Linked DNA regions of Homo sapiens: regions 2, 3 and 4 are each linked to region 1. The links are contacts of gene promoters, found by promoter capture Hi-C in blood cells and fetal thymus (Javierre and others, 2016). All regions are on one chromosome and are shown on one strand. The core of a region is centred on a gene start or on the middle of the fragment in contact, and the rest is flanking DNA. Distances in the headings are between cores, read along the strand shown. Region 1 holds the start of PSMA2 (proteasome 20S subunit alpha 2). Region 2 holds the start of YKT6 (YKT6 vesicular SNARE protein). Region 3 has its middle 210 kb from the start of INHBA. Region 4 holds the start of TMED4 (transmembrane p24 trafficking protein 4).

Region 1 (2,700 bases), core at 15-2,514:
CCTTTTATTGCATAATTAAATTAATCTCGTTCAAAGGTTACAAAAAAACTATTACATACACCCACTGCTTACTGAAAACTGCCAAGAGAAAAGTACTTTTGGAATTTAAGACAACGTTATGTAATGGAAAGTGTATTTTTGTTATCAGAAAAAAAACCCAGTTTGAATGTCAACTCAGCTACTCACCGATGACCTTAGACAAGTTGTTTAATTTGTACAAGCTGCGGTTAGTTCATCTGTAAGAAGCTGAGATAACATTCATTATAGCAGTGGAAAGAGATGGAGCAGGTTAAGGTTAAGTTGCACCTAACAAAGTACTCAACAAGTTAGATCCCGCCTGCCTTCAGTTGTCAGGAGTACATTTTAAGTAAACTGGGCATTACTGATCCTTAAGAAAATGGGTAAGTCAGAAAACTTCCCCAGTCAATTTTTAAAAGTCTTCGGCGATGGTTTTCTCACGTTGAGAGCCATGGTTCGCCCCAACTGTATTTTGGAAAGTAAACTTATTATTCTAATCCCCTTTTCTACAATAGAAAAACCTACAATCTTGTTTAAAGTAAACATCCCCCTCCCCGACGTTCCCCCCAGTCCACCAAAAAAAGACCAAAACTCAAACTTGCCTCGTTGTTAGGGGTTCACAAAAAAGTGATAGGGGCTTTCGGTTTTTAGTCCTTATGTTTCTAATTCGTGCATCGAAGAAACCGAAAGCGGGAGGTTTTGAAAGACACTAGTGCCAAATGGAGACCAAGACTCCGACTTAACTGTAAAGCTGAGAGTTTTCCAAGAAAAGGGAACCCCACATATTTGACCAAGATTCCAAGTTTCAGAAACCACCGCATCAGGTCTACTTGAGCCAGGAAAAAAATCCTGAGTTCGGAACGGGCCACCCAGAGATGGTTAAGCTAAAACTGCCTTCTTTTCTGGTCTCCAAAGTGAAAGCGAATCCTTGGCTATGTGCCTCACCGTCCCGCAGCCCCATGTTAACCCCGCAAAACCGCATCCCCCCGACCCTCCAGCAGCCTCCGACCAAGGAAGCTCCAGGAATCCCGGGTCGGCCTGGCAAATGACTTTGCAAAGCCGCATTTCCAACTCCATTCCCTACTGGACCCTCCAGAAGCACCAATGCCGACGTCAGGATGGGAAAAACTAAATCGACAGAGTACCAGCAACCTCGACTACGCTGAAGACCTCGAGGGCCCCTTCCATACCTGAATGTAGTCAGCGAAAAGCTGTACCCGCGCTCCGCCATCTTTACCCGAAGAGCCAAAGCACAGCCGCACACATGCGCACTGTGGCCGATTTCCTTTCATTTCCCCGCCCCTCACCTTTCCTTTACTCTCTATGATTGGAGGAGAGTCAGAGCTGCTCCAAGAGCATGCGGGGTGTTGTAGTTCTAAGAAGCGAGGCTTGCCCGATTCTGTGCCTGTGCGCATGCTGAAAGCAGGGGCGGGACCGGGGCGGTCTTCCAGCAGGGAAAATGGCGCTGGCCATGCTGGTCTTGGTGGTTTCGCCGTGGTCTGCGGCCCGGGGAGTGCTTCGAAACTACTGGGAGCGACTGCTACGGAAGCTTCCGCAGAGCCGGCCGGGCTTTCCCAGTCCTCCGTGGGGTAGGTAAAGAAGGGCTCCGTGGGAGAGGGGGCTGATGACGGGACCTCGGGCAGCGTAGCAGACGCAGCTTACACAGTTCGCCCTCAGCCCCGGTTCTGATCCGCGGCCTCATGTCGGGGACGTAGTTCGTGACATTCCCATATTAGCGAGAACAGAACGACTGTTTTTGCGCTCCCTCCACCGCAAAAAAAAAAAAAAAAAAATTCCTCTGCTTGTTCCATTCGTACACAGAATGTAACCCAAGCTTGTGTCAAAGATAAATCATAGCCAGCCAGTAAGTAAAGCGCTGAAAACAGATTTTATTCAGTAACTACTGCAGGTAAAGAGCTGAGCTCCATCCCGGTTTGTGCAGAGGTGACTTTGGGCGTTTTAAAGGGAGAATGAGCGAGGCGGGAGTGTAGGGGCTCTGTAGAGTCAGAGAAGTGTAGTATAGTGAAGTCAGTGCAAATGTGATTAGCCGGCTGTGTCTGCTAGCTCGCAGTTGTCTTAGGGAGAATTCTATCCTCCCGCAGAGACTGGGAGACAAAGGCCCTATCCTTCCTAATGATTAGATTTCGAAGGAATGGCTCTCAGGGCCTTGAAAGAAAAGCTTCCGAGTTAGTTGCAAGGGATACGTATTTACAATTATATGCCCTTTCCAGGAAATGCTCTAAGGGAGTTCGGGACCTACTATCGGGGTATGTTGGCCAAAATAAATAGGAAATTTTCCAGGCAGCGTTGAGCTTTCTCAGGCAGGCACTTTAAAGGGGGGGCCGAGGTCATCCTAGGATACAGCCTTATGCTGCTAGAAACTATGCTAGAGTTTGGTCAAGTCTGTGGAGTTCAGGGATTTGTACAGAGTTGTCCTGAGAGGACAGTTCTGCAGGTCTCACTTGGCATCAAGGCTCACCACTCTCTGGATCTGTCTTTCCTTTCCAGCCCTGCCCTCACCTCCCCTCCCGCTTCCCCTCTCCCCCCTCTCCTCTTCCCTTCCCTTCCCTCCCTTCTTTCCTCCCTTCCTCCCTCCCTCCCGCGCAGTACATGTTTTCTGTGGTGTTTGAGCTCTGAGGAGCTGAATTCTGTTTCCCATGTTTCACTTGGAATTAATTTTAA
Region 2 (2,700 bases), core at 40-2,539, 1.3 Mb after region 1:
GTCATCTGCAAACAGGGACAATTTGACTTCCTCTTTTCTTAATTGAATACCCTTTATTTCCTTCTCCTACCTGATTGCCCTGGCCAGAACTTCCAACACTATGTTGAAAAGGAGTGGTGAGAGAGGGCATCCCAGTCTTGTGCCAGTTTTCAAAGGGAATGCTTCCAGTTTTTGTCCATTCAGTATGATATTGGCTGTGGGTTTGTCATAGATAGCTCTTATTATTTTGAGATACGTCCCATCAATACCTAATTTATTGAGAGTTTTTAGCATGAGGGTTGTTGAATTTTGTCAAAGGCCTTTTCTGCATCTATTGAGATAATCATGTGGTTTTTGTCTTTGGTTCTGTTTATATGCTGGATTACGTTTACTGATTTTCGTATGTTGAACCAGCCTTGCATCCCAGGGATGAAGCCCACTTGATCATGGTGGATAAGCTTTTTGATGTGTTGCTGGATTCGGTTTGCCAGTATTTTACTGAGGATTTTTGCTTCAATGTTCATCAAGGATATTGGTCTAAAATTCTTTTTTTGTTGTGTCTCTCTCTGCCACCCTTTGGTATCAGGATGATGCTGGCCTCATAAAATGAGTTAGGGAGGATTCTCTCTTTTTCTTTTGATTGGAATAGTTTCAGAAGGAATGGTACAAGCTCCTCCTAAAATGTGGCACATATACACCATGGAATACTATGCAGCCATAAAAAATGATGAGTTCATGTCCTTTGTAGGGACATGGATGAAGCTGGAAACCATCATTCTCAGCAAACTATTGCAAGGACAAAAAACCAAACACCGCATGTTCTCACTCATAGGTGGGAATTGAACAATAAGAACACATGGACACAGGAAGGCGAACATCACACACCGGGGACTGTTGTGGGGTGGGGGGAGGGGGGAGGGATAGCATTAGGAGATATACTTAATGCTAAATGACGAGTTAATGGGTGCAGCACACCAACATGGCACATGTATACATATGTAACAAACCTGCACGTTGTGCACATGTACCCTAAAACTTAAAGTATAATAATAAAAAAAATGCTTACTTTAAAAAAAGAAAGAAAAGAAAAAAAAAAAAAAGAAGGGTTCAGGCCGCTGTGGGAGGCCCAGCACCACCCAGCACAAGACAGTACGGTATCCCGCCGCGCGCCCGACTCCACCTGGCGAGCAGGGAGGGGCCAAGCTTACGCGAGGCGTGGCATCCCGCCCCTCGCTGCATTGTACTTCCGGGCTCACATTTCTGCATCCGGAGTATGAGAACCCTCAACCAGGCTGACCGGATCCGGAAGTGGATTGCGAGCCAGGAGGAGGAAGCCGGCGGTGGCCCCGTCAGCAGCCGGCTGCTGAGAGGCCGGTAGGCGGCGGCGGTCCCGAGGGGCGGCGGCCGCGCTGCTCCCTGAGAACGGGTCCCGCAGCTGGGCAGGCGGGCGGCCTGAGGGCGCGGAGCCATGAAGCTGTACAGCCTCAGCGTCCTCTACAAAGGCGAGGCCAAGGTGGTGCTGCTCAAAGCCGCATACGATGTGTCTTCCTTCAGCTTTTTCCAGAGATCCAGGTGAGCGGCACAGGCTGGTGGGCCGTGGCGGTCGGGCGGAGAGGACTGGGGTGGGGGTCCGAGTCGGAGTGGGCCTGGGGTCGGCGGAGGGATGAGGGGAGGGTGGAGGAGGCCAAGGGTAGGGGCAGGGCGGGGTGGCCGAGTGCCCGGGGTCTGAGAAGGCTGGTGTCCGAGTCAGAGGCGGGGCGGGGTGGGGAGGGCCCGGGGTCTGCTGTCCGGGCTTGGTCTCCTATAATGGAATCTGGCCGTGGACTCTACCTTTGAGGAACCAACATTAGCTCTTTAAGAGCTTATACCATTCTAGAATATAGTTCTCTACTCAGTGTTTTTCAAATTTCTGTCGTGTAAAAATTTTAAGGAGACTGTGAAGTAGTGCAGATTTCCAAGCTTCATGCCAAGATGTTCTGAATTAGTAGATTGAGGCCTCGGTATTTATATTTTAGACCAACACTTCCCACCCAGTGATTCTGACTCTGGGAGCTTGGGTGCCGCATCTTGAGAGCCATATTTTGATTTTCTTGCGGGGCTTCCCAACAATTCTGTATGAGAGATAGTGATATACTTTTTTTTGTTTGTTTTTAATGGGTGAAGTCACTGAGGTACCAAGAGGTTATATCACAACCAGCTAGAACTGAAAGCCAGGTTTAACGCTTTTTAGTTGGACACTAGTGGTACAAAAGGATTCCACACGGAAGATGCAAATGAAGCATGGGATCTGTAGGGCTTACAGGCTTTTACTTGTTTCTGGGGCGCTTTAATTGCTGGAACGTGTTAGAAGTAACACAGACACTTCCAGACCATTCGTGGGAGGGATTGGGGTGACTCAGGCACGAAAGAAGGAGGACCCTACATGGTCGGTATCTATGGTCATCTTGTCTCAAAATCTGATGGAATCTGCCGTTTGGATTCTGTTTTCCCTGCTTCAGTGCAGCTGGTTCTTGATGAGAGTTCTTTGCCAAGGACTTGCTGGATGTAAAAAAAAAAAAATGTTATTTTGTTGAAACTTTCTGCTTCTTTGAGTTCTTTTAAAAAAATATTTTTAATTGTGGTAAAATGGTACACAAAATTTATCTTCACTATCTTTAAGCGTGTAGTGAGTGCATTGATATGAAATAGATTGATAGTGTTGTGCAGCCATCACTGTCAATC
Region 3 (2,700 bases), core at 95-2,594, 1.0 Mb before region 1:
TCTAAGAATGCTAGTTCTAAAATATGTGTGTGTGTGTGTGCATGTGTGTGTGTGTGTGTGTATGTATAGATATAGATATAGATATAGATATAGATATAGATATAGATATAGATATATGTACACATTCCTTCATGGGTTTTATTTAATTCATTCTGGAAAGTATTTTTGTCAACACTTCTCTTACAAGACTCCTTAATCAACCATGGCCATGAACTCTAAGGTATTTTTTCAAGCTATAATAATGACATTATTCCACCAAAAGGGCTTCCTTTGTAATCCTGTTAAAATATTTGCAAAAAAGAGAATTCCAAATACTTTGAATTATCCAGCATGCTACTAGTGGAGAGGCAGCTAGAAATGATAAATCCTAGCACTTCCTAAGAAATTCCTAACAGCAATTAAGCCTGTTTCGCAGTGTTACTGTACTGCTTAGAAAGGAAAGATACTCAGATACATGAGGGAGGGAGAGAAAGGAAGGCACAGAAAGCAAGAGAGAGAACAAAATTGTTGCAATTATCTTGGTATTAATTCTTTTTGACCAGAATGTCATCCATTTTGACTAGAAATCATCCATGCAGGAGTTGAGATTGTAGTGGAGTCCAAAGCTCACACTGCTCACCACACGACAGCCAACACATTGAAAGACAAGGTGTTGGAAGACGACTTTACTTCAGAGAGAGCCAGCAGAACAGCGTCCTAAATAACTATCTTAGAATGCATGAATCTCAAGCTTCTTTTTATACTGGGGAAGAGGGAAGAAGGAGGTGGCTGGTGACCACAGACATCTGAGCATCAGCAGAAGTCCAAGGAGGATGCAAAACTTCTTTGTCCTTGGTCAGGTCACAATGCTCCTATAAATCTTCAACATAACATTGTTACTTGTGCATATGTCCTCCTTATCTCCTCGAGGGTTACTTTGGGGCAGGCACTGTTATCATCTTTGCTTTAAAATTAAACTATAGGCTGGATGTGTTTGTTCAGGCTTGTAATCCCAGCAATTTGGGAGGCCGAGGCAGGAGGATGGCTTGAGCCCAGAATTTTGAGACTAGCCTAGGCAACAAAGAGAGACCCTGTCTCTACAGAAAAAGTTAAACAATTAGCCAGGCATGGTGGTGTGTGCCTGTAATCCCAGCTACTTGGGAGGCTGGGGTGGGAGGATCATTTGAATCTGGGAGTCATGTTTGTGCCACTACACTCCGGCCTGGGAGACAGAGTGAGACCCTGTCTCAAAAAAATAAATAAATAAATAAATAAATAAATAAAAATTAAAAATAAAGTTAAACTGGAAACTAAATTCCTCCCATAGTTAGCTTGGCCTACGTGCAAAAACGGGCAATGGCAGTTAGCTTGTGAGGTCACATGCAAGAAGGAGTCAGCTGTATTAGATTTCTCTCACTGTTACAAGATTAGCTCTACATATGTTTTAAAAGTTCAAACTACAATTTTCTTATTCATTTAGAAATAATTGAAAAATCAACATGTGAGTACTAAATTATCAAAATTACCATTGATAAAACCTAACCTAGCTCTCCCAGTGTGCGAAAGCAATGCTGAGCATTATTTATATATTCTTCCATATCTACTAGTGAAGTAAATAGTGAATAGAAATGCCACTGGTCTTGGACTCAGAAACTTAAGGTTGAAGTTCAAGTCCATCATGGCCTAACCATCTGTATGGTCTTTGAGTCACTGAATCTATTTGGGTCTCAATTTTCTTATCTATGAAGAATATTTTTCTGCAGTCTGTGCAGAGATAGCTCATGTCATTCAGGTCTCAGGTTAAAATGTCCTCTGCTCAGAGCTGCCTTTGATGGTCATGTCATCTAAACTAGCTGTCCATCCCACAGCCACCTATTTGAATTATCTGAATAGCACTTAGGACTCTTCAGTTACTTTTTCCTCATTTAATTGTTTATTATGTACTCTTTGTTTTATTGTCTGCTACCCCTGGCAAAATACAAGCTTCAGGGAGGGAAAAAACAAAAAACAACAAAAAAAAAACACCTGCCTACTGGTTCACCAGTGCATCACCAGTGCCTGGCACAAAAATAGGCATGCAATAAATAGTTGATGAATGAATAAGTGAATAAATATAAAAGGGGCTCAAACTGGTGCCCTGCCAGCTTTCAAAGGCTCTTGTGAGGACCACAAAGAGGAAGTAGATGCGACCATGGCTTAGAATGATGGAACACTCTGCAAATGGAAGATTTTATTACTCTGATTTTAATTTTCCTTCAAGGTTAACAACATGTTTCTACCCATAACTTCATGAATTATTTTCATAGCTAATAAATTCTCCACATGGAATGTAAGATGGCTCTCCAATTTTCTGAAGCAATTTCACTTAGAAAAAATAAAAAAAAAAACACAATGAAATTCACAAAGATAATTATGTCAGGGTCCATGTCCTAATTACAGTTTCTTAGCAAGAGTTAGTTCAAATTTCTTCGTTTCCGTAGCCAATGGAACCTCAGGACTTGAGTGCTTTCCCACAGCATTCCATAAGAGGTCACAAAAGAAAGAGGAGGCAGGGAAGAGCATGCCGGCTTGTGTGCATGTGGGTCTCACATTCTCCACCTCAACGTCTTCTCTGATGGCCTGTCTTACTCAACCTCTCAAGTGATGGCAAAGTAGGTGGCAAGTCACAGACCTCATGATGAAACTCTGGCCTCTATGTTCTTGTTCAAAGCTGACTGCACA
Region 4 (2,700 bases), core at 142-2,641, 1.7 Mb after region 1:
AGGAGGCTGAGGCAGGAGAATCGCTTGAACCTGGGGAGGCGGAGGTTGCAGTGAGCCAAGATCATGGCATTGCACTCCAGCATGGGCAACAAGAGTGAAACTCCGTCTCAAAAACAACAAACAAACAACCTATCTAAACCAATACTTCTCATTCCATTCTCTGCAGAGCTGATCTCCCAAGCAGAAACTTGAGTAGGTATAGTGGGTATAAAGGTCAACTGCCCTCTCAAATTACAAGGAGATATGCACTTGCCCTTTGGTAATCCTGCTCCTTCTGAATCTGTTCCACCTGATCAAGCAACTGGCGGGCGCGGAGCTGTAGCTCCGTCAGCTTATCTTTTGCAGCAATCTCAGGGTAGTTGTTGGCATGCTCCCCAACCTGGATGTCGAGATGCACCCGCTACAAGGAAACATGGAATGTATGAGTGGTGGGGCCTCCAGTTGTCTGTTCCAGGGTATGGAACCCACTATTGTCCCTGGCTGTGGAGCAGAAGGCAACATCTGTCTCCCCAATTCTGACTGTGCTACAAAGTTTCACAATCTTGATAAATCAAAATTTGGAAACAAGTGAGAGATTCTAAGCTGAAGCCAAAGAGAAAATCCTCTTACCAGTTTGCCACCAGCGAAGAGAGCCATCCTGGTAGAATTGGAGTGCAGACAGATTTGATGGTCACCGGGCGTGTGGGAGGTGAACGTGAAGCGGCCCTCCGAGCCGTACTGCCGGGACAGCACCACCTGCAACATATGTGAGTGAAGGCCCCACCTTTATACCGCAGGCTCTCCAAGTGCAAGTTCCTGTCCCTTGAGGCCTCCTCCAGGCAGTGCTTTACACCCCACGGGAGCTCCACTGAAGAACGGCTGCGTGGGCCAACGCCAGCCTTACCTTGCCGTCGGGGTCCTTCACTTCCACGTGCATGCCCAGGCCAGGGGTCGAGGGCAGGAAGACCTCCTTCTGCTTATCCCACATCTGGGTACGATAGTTGCCTGCGGGGCAGACACATAGTCACGACCGGCCCTAGTGGGCCGCCTCTCCGCCCGGCCCCCTCCGACGTGCGGCCCGGAGCTCTAGGCAGGGGGCCTGGCGTCCTCGGGGCACCCTCAGGCTAGGTACTGGGGGAGCCAGCGACCCGGCTGGGCTCGGGAGGAGGGAGCGCCGCCGAGGGCTGAGCTGGGTACAAAGGGCCTCCCCACCCTCAGCCCGCCTGACCGATGACCATGGTCTCGTCGGGGATTTCCTCGATGAAACAGCGCTTCTCGGTCTCGCCGATGTGGAAGTAGAGCCCCTGGGCGCCTGTGGCGCACAGCGCGAGAAGCAGCAGGGCCTGCCGCCCCATCGCCCGCAGAGGCCCAGCCCCGACACCTGCCATCGCGCCTCAGCCCCTAAGCGCCTGCGCACATTTGCGCATCGCTCTGCGCCTGCGCGCCACCCTAGCGACCCTGAGAGTTAGGGGAAGAGGACGCCTGCGCAGTGATATGTACTCGCCGTCTCCTGCAACTCCATCCGTACCGAACACTGCCGCGCCCCGCCCCCTCACACAGCCCGGCGCCCGCCTACCCCCGCAACGAGAGTAGAGGGCGCATGCGCAATGACGTTCGCCCTTAATTTCTCGCCCCTTACCCCGCAGCTTACCTCCGGCATCTCGCAGGGGAGGCACGCCTGCGCAGTCACGCCCGCCCTCGGCCCCAGTCAGCGATTTGGGTCTCGGAGCACCAAGGAGACGGTGGACGGAATCTGACCAGGCTTGGTGGCTACGATGGCCTGAAGCGTGCCTTTTGGGTTCTCAGCTCGGGCTCACAAGTGTTTTCTGTGCTAAATACAAAAAGCCCTGTGATGTTTTGCTTTGCGTGTCCACCTATCTGACTCGTAAGAACCGAGGCTGAATCCAGACCCACACTCTGTCACGTCGGGAGAGCCTGCCGCGGCGAGCCTCTGCGAGCGGGCATTTCTTGGGTGGGGACCAAAAGCCCAGTGCTGCCATAGTTTCGGATCATTCTTTTAAGAAGCTGGGGCCGGGCGCGGTGGCTGGCACCTGTAATCCCAGCACTCTGGGAGGCTGAGGCGGGCGGATCCCTTGAGCCCAGGAGTTCGGGACCAGCCTGGGCAACATGGTGAAACCCCCGTCTCTACAAAAAATTAACCGGTGTGGTGGTGTGCGCATGTAGTCCCAGCTACTTGGGAGGCTGAGGCAGGAGAATCGCTTGAACCCAGGAGGTCGAGGATGCATTAAGCAGTGATCGCGCTCCAGCCTGGGCGACCGAGGGTGATACCTTGTCTTAAAAAAAAGGTGGGAGAGTGGAACGAAAACTTGGAATAAGTAGGGTCATGGAGCTTGTTTACATCCCCTAGTTACAGCACATCCTTTTGAAAGTGAAAAACAAACTGGAATGTTACTTAGTGGGCATGGAATCGAAGCAACGGAAGGTTAAAACTGTTTTTATCAAGGCCAGGCGGGCGCGGTGGCTCACGCCTGTAATGCTAACACTTTGGGCGGCCAAGGCTGGTGGATCATCTGAGGTTAGAAATTCGAGACCAGTTGGGCCAACAAGGTGAAACCCCCGTCTCTACTAAAAATACATTTTATCAACAGAATTTCGAAACTTTTATATAATAGAATAATTACAATGAACTTTCATAAAGAACTTGAGCATACCTGGATTTTGGTATCCGTAGGGGTCCAGGAATTATCCCCCTTGGATAAT

What was found. The method cuts DNA at HindIII sites, captures the fragments that hold promoters and counts their contacts. A CHiCAGO score of 5 or more calls a contact.
Region 2: a contact is called between the fragment with the promoter of YKT6 here and the fragment with the promoter of PSMA2 in region 1, in 1 of 17 cell types (fetal thymus). The highest score is 6.5, in fetal thymus.
Region 3: a contact is called between a fragment that was not itself captured here and the fragment with the promoter of PSMA2 in region 1, in 1 of 17 cell types (M2 macrophages). The highest score is 6.2, in M2 macrophages.
Region 4: a contact is called between the fragment with the promoter of TMED4 here and the fragment with the promoter of PSMA2 in region 1, in 1 of 17 cell types (fetal thymus). The highest score is 5.8, in fetal thymus.

What each region holds. Positions count from the first base shown.
Region 1 is chr7:42,930,910-42,933,609 of GRCh38, forward strand. PSMA2 (proteasome 20S subunit alpha 2) reads right to left here and starts at 1,265. Exons shown (of 8, transcript NM_002787.5): 1 at 1,209-1,265. The coding sequence starts at 1,249. MRPL32 (mitochondrial ribosomal protein L32) reads left to right here and starts at 1,467. Exons shown (of 3, transcript NM_031903.3): 1 at 1,467-1,607. The coding sequence starts at 1,478. RefSeq lists an enhancer at 1,416-1,645. The HindIII fragment of the contact is 5,414 bases long and covers 1-1,565 here.
Region 2 is chr7:44,199,689-44,202,388 of GRCh38, forward strand. YKT6 (YKT6 vesicular SNARE protein) reads left to right here and starts at 1,290. Exons shown (of 7, transcript NM_006555.4): 1 at 1,290-1,551. The coding sequence starts at 1,448. RefSeq lists a silencer at 1,397-1,466. The HindIII fragment of the contact is 756 bases long and covers 1,181-1,936 here.
Region 3 is chr7:41,913,975-41,916,674 of GRCh38, forward strand. No RefSeq gene overlaps it. Among named protein-coding and RNA genes, the nearest start is that of INHBA, 210 kb to the left of the region's middle. The HindIII fragment of the contact is 1,232 bases long and covers 729-1,960 here.
Region 4 is chr7:44,580,840-44,583,539 of GRCh38, forward strand. It overlaps TMED4 (transmembrane p24 trafficking protein 4), which reads right to left and starts at 1,392. Exons shown (of 5, transcript NM_182547.4): 1 at 1,208-1,392; 2 at 884-984; 3 at 610-735; 4 at 254-400. The coding sequence starts at 1,367. RefSeq lists silencers at 1,016-1,115, 1,516-1,675 and an enhancer at 1,766-1,875. The HindIII fragment of the contact is 9,471 bases long and covers 1-2,700 here.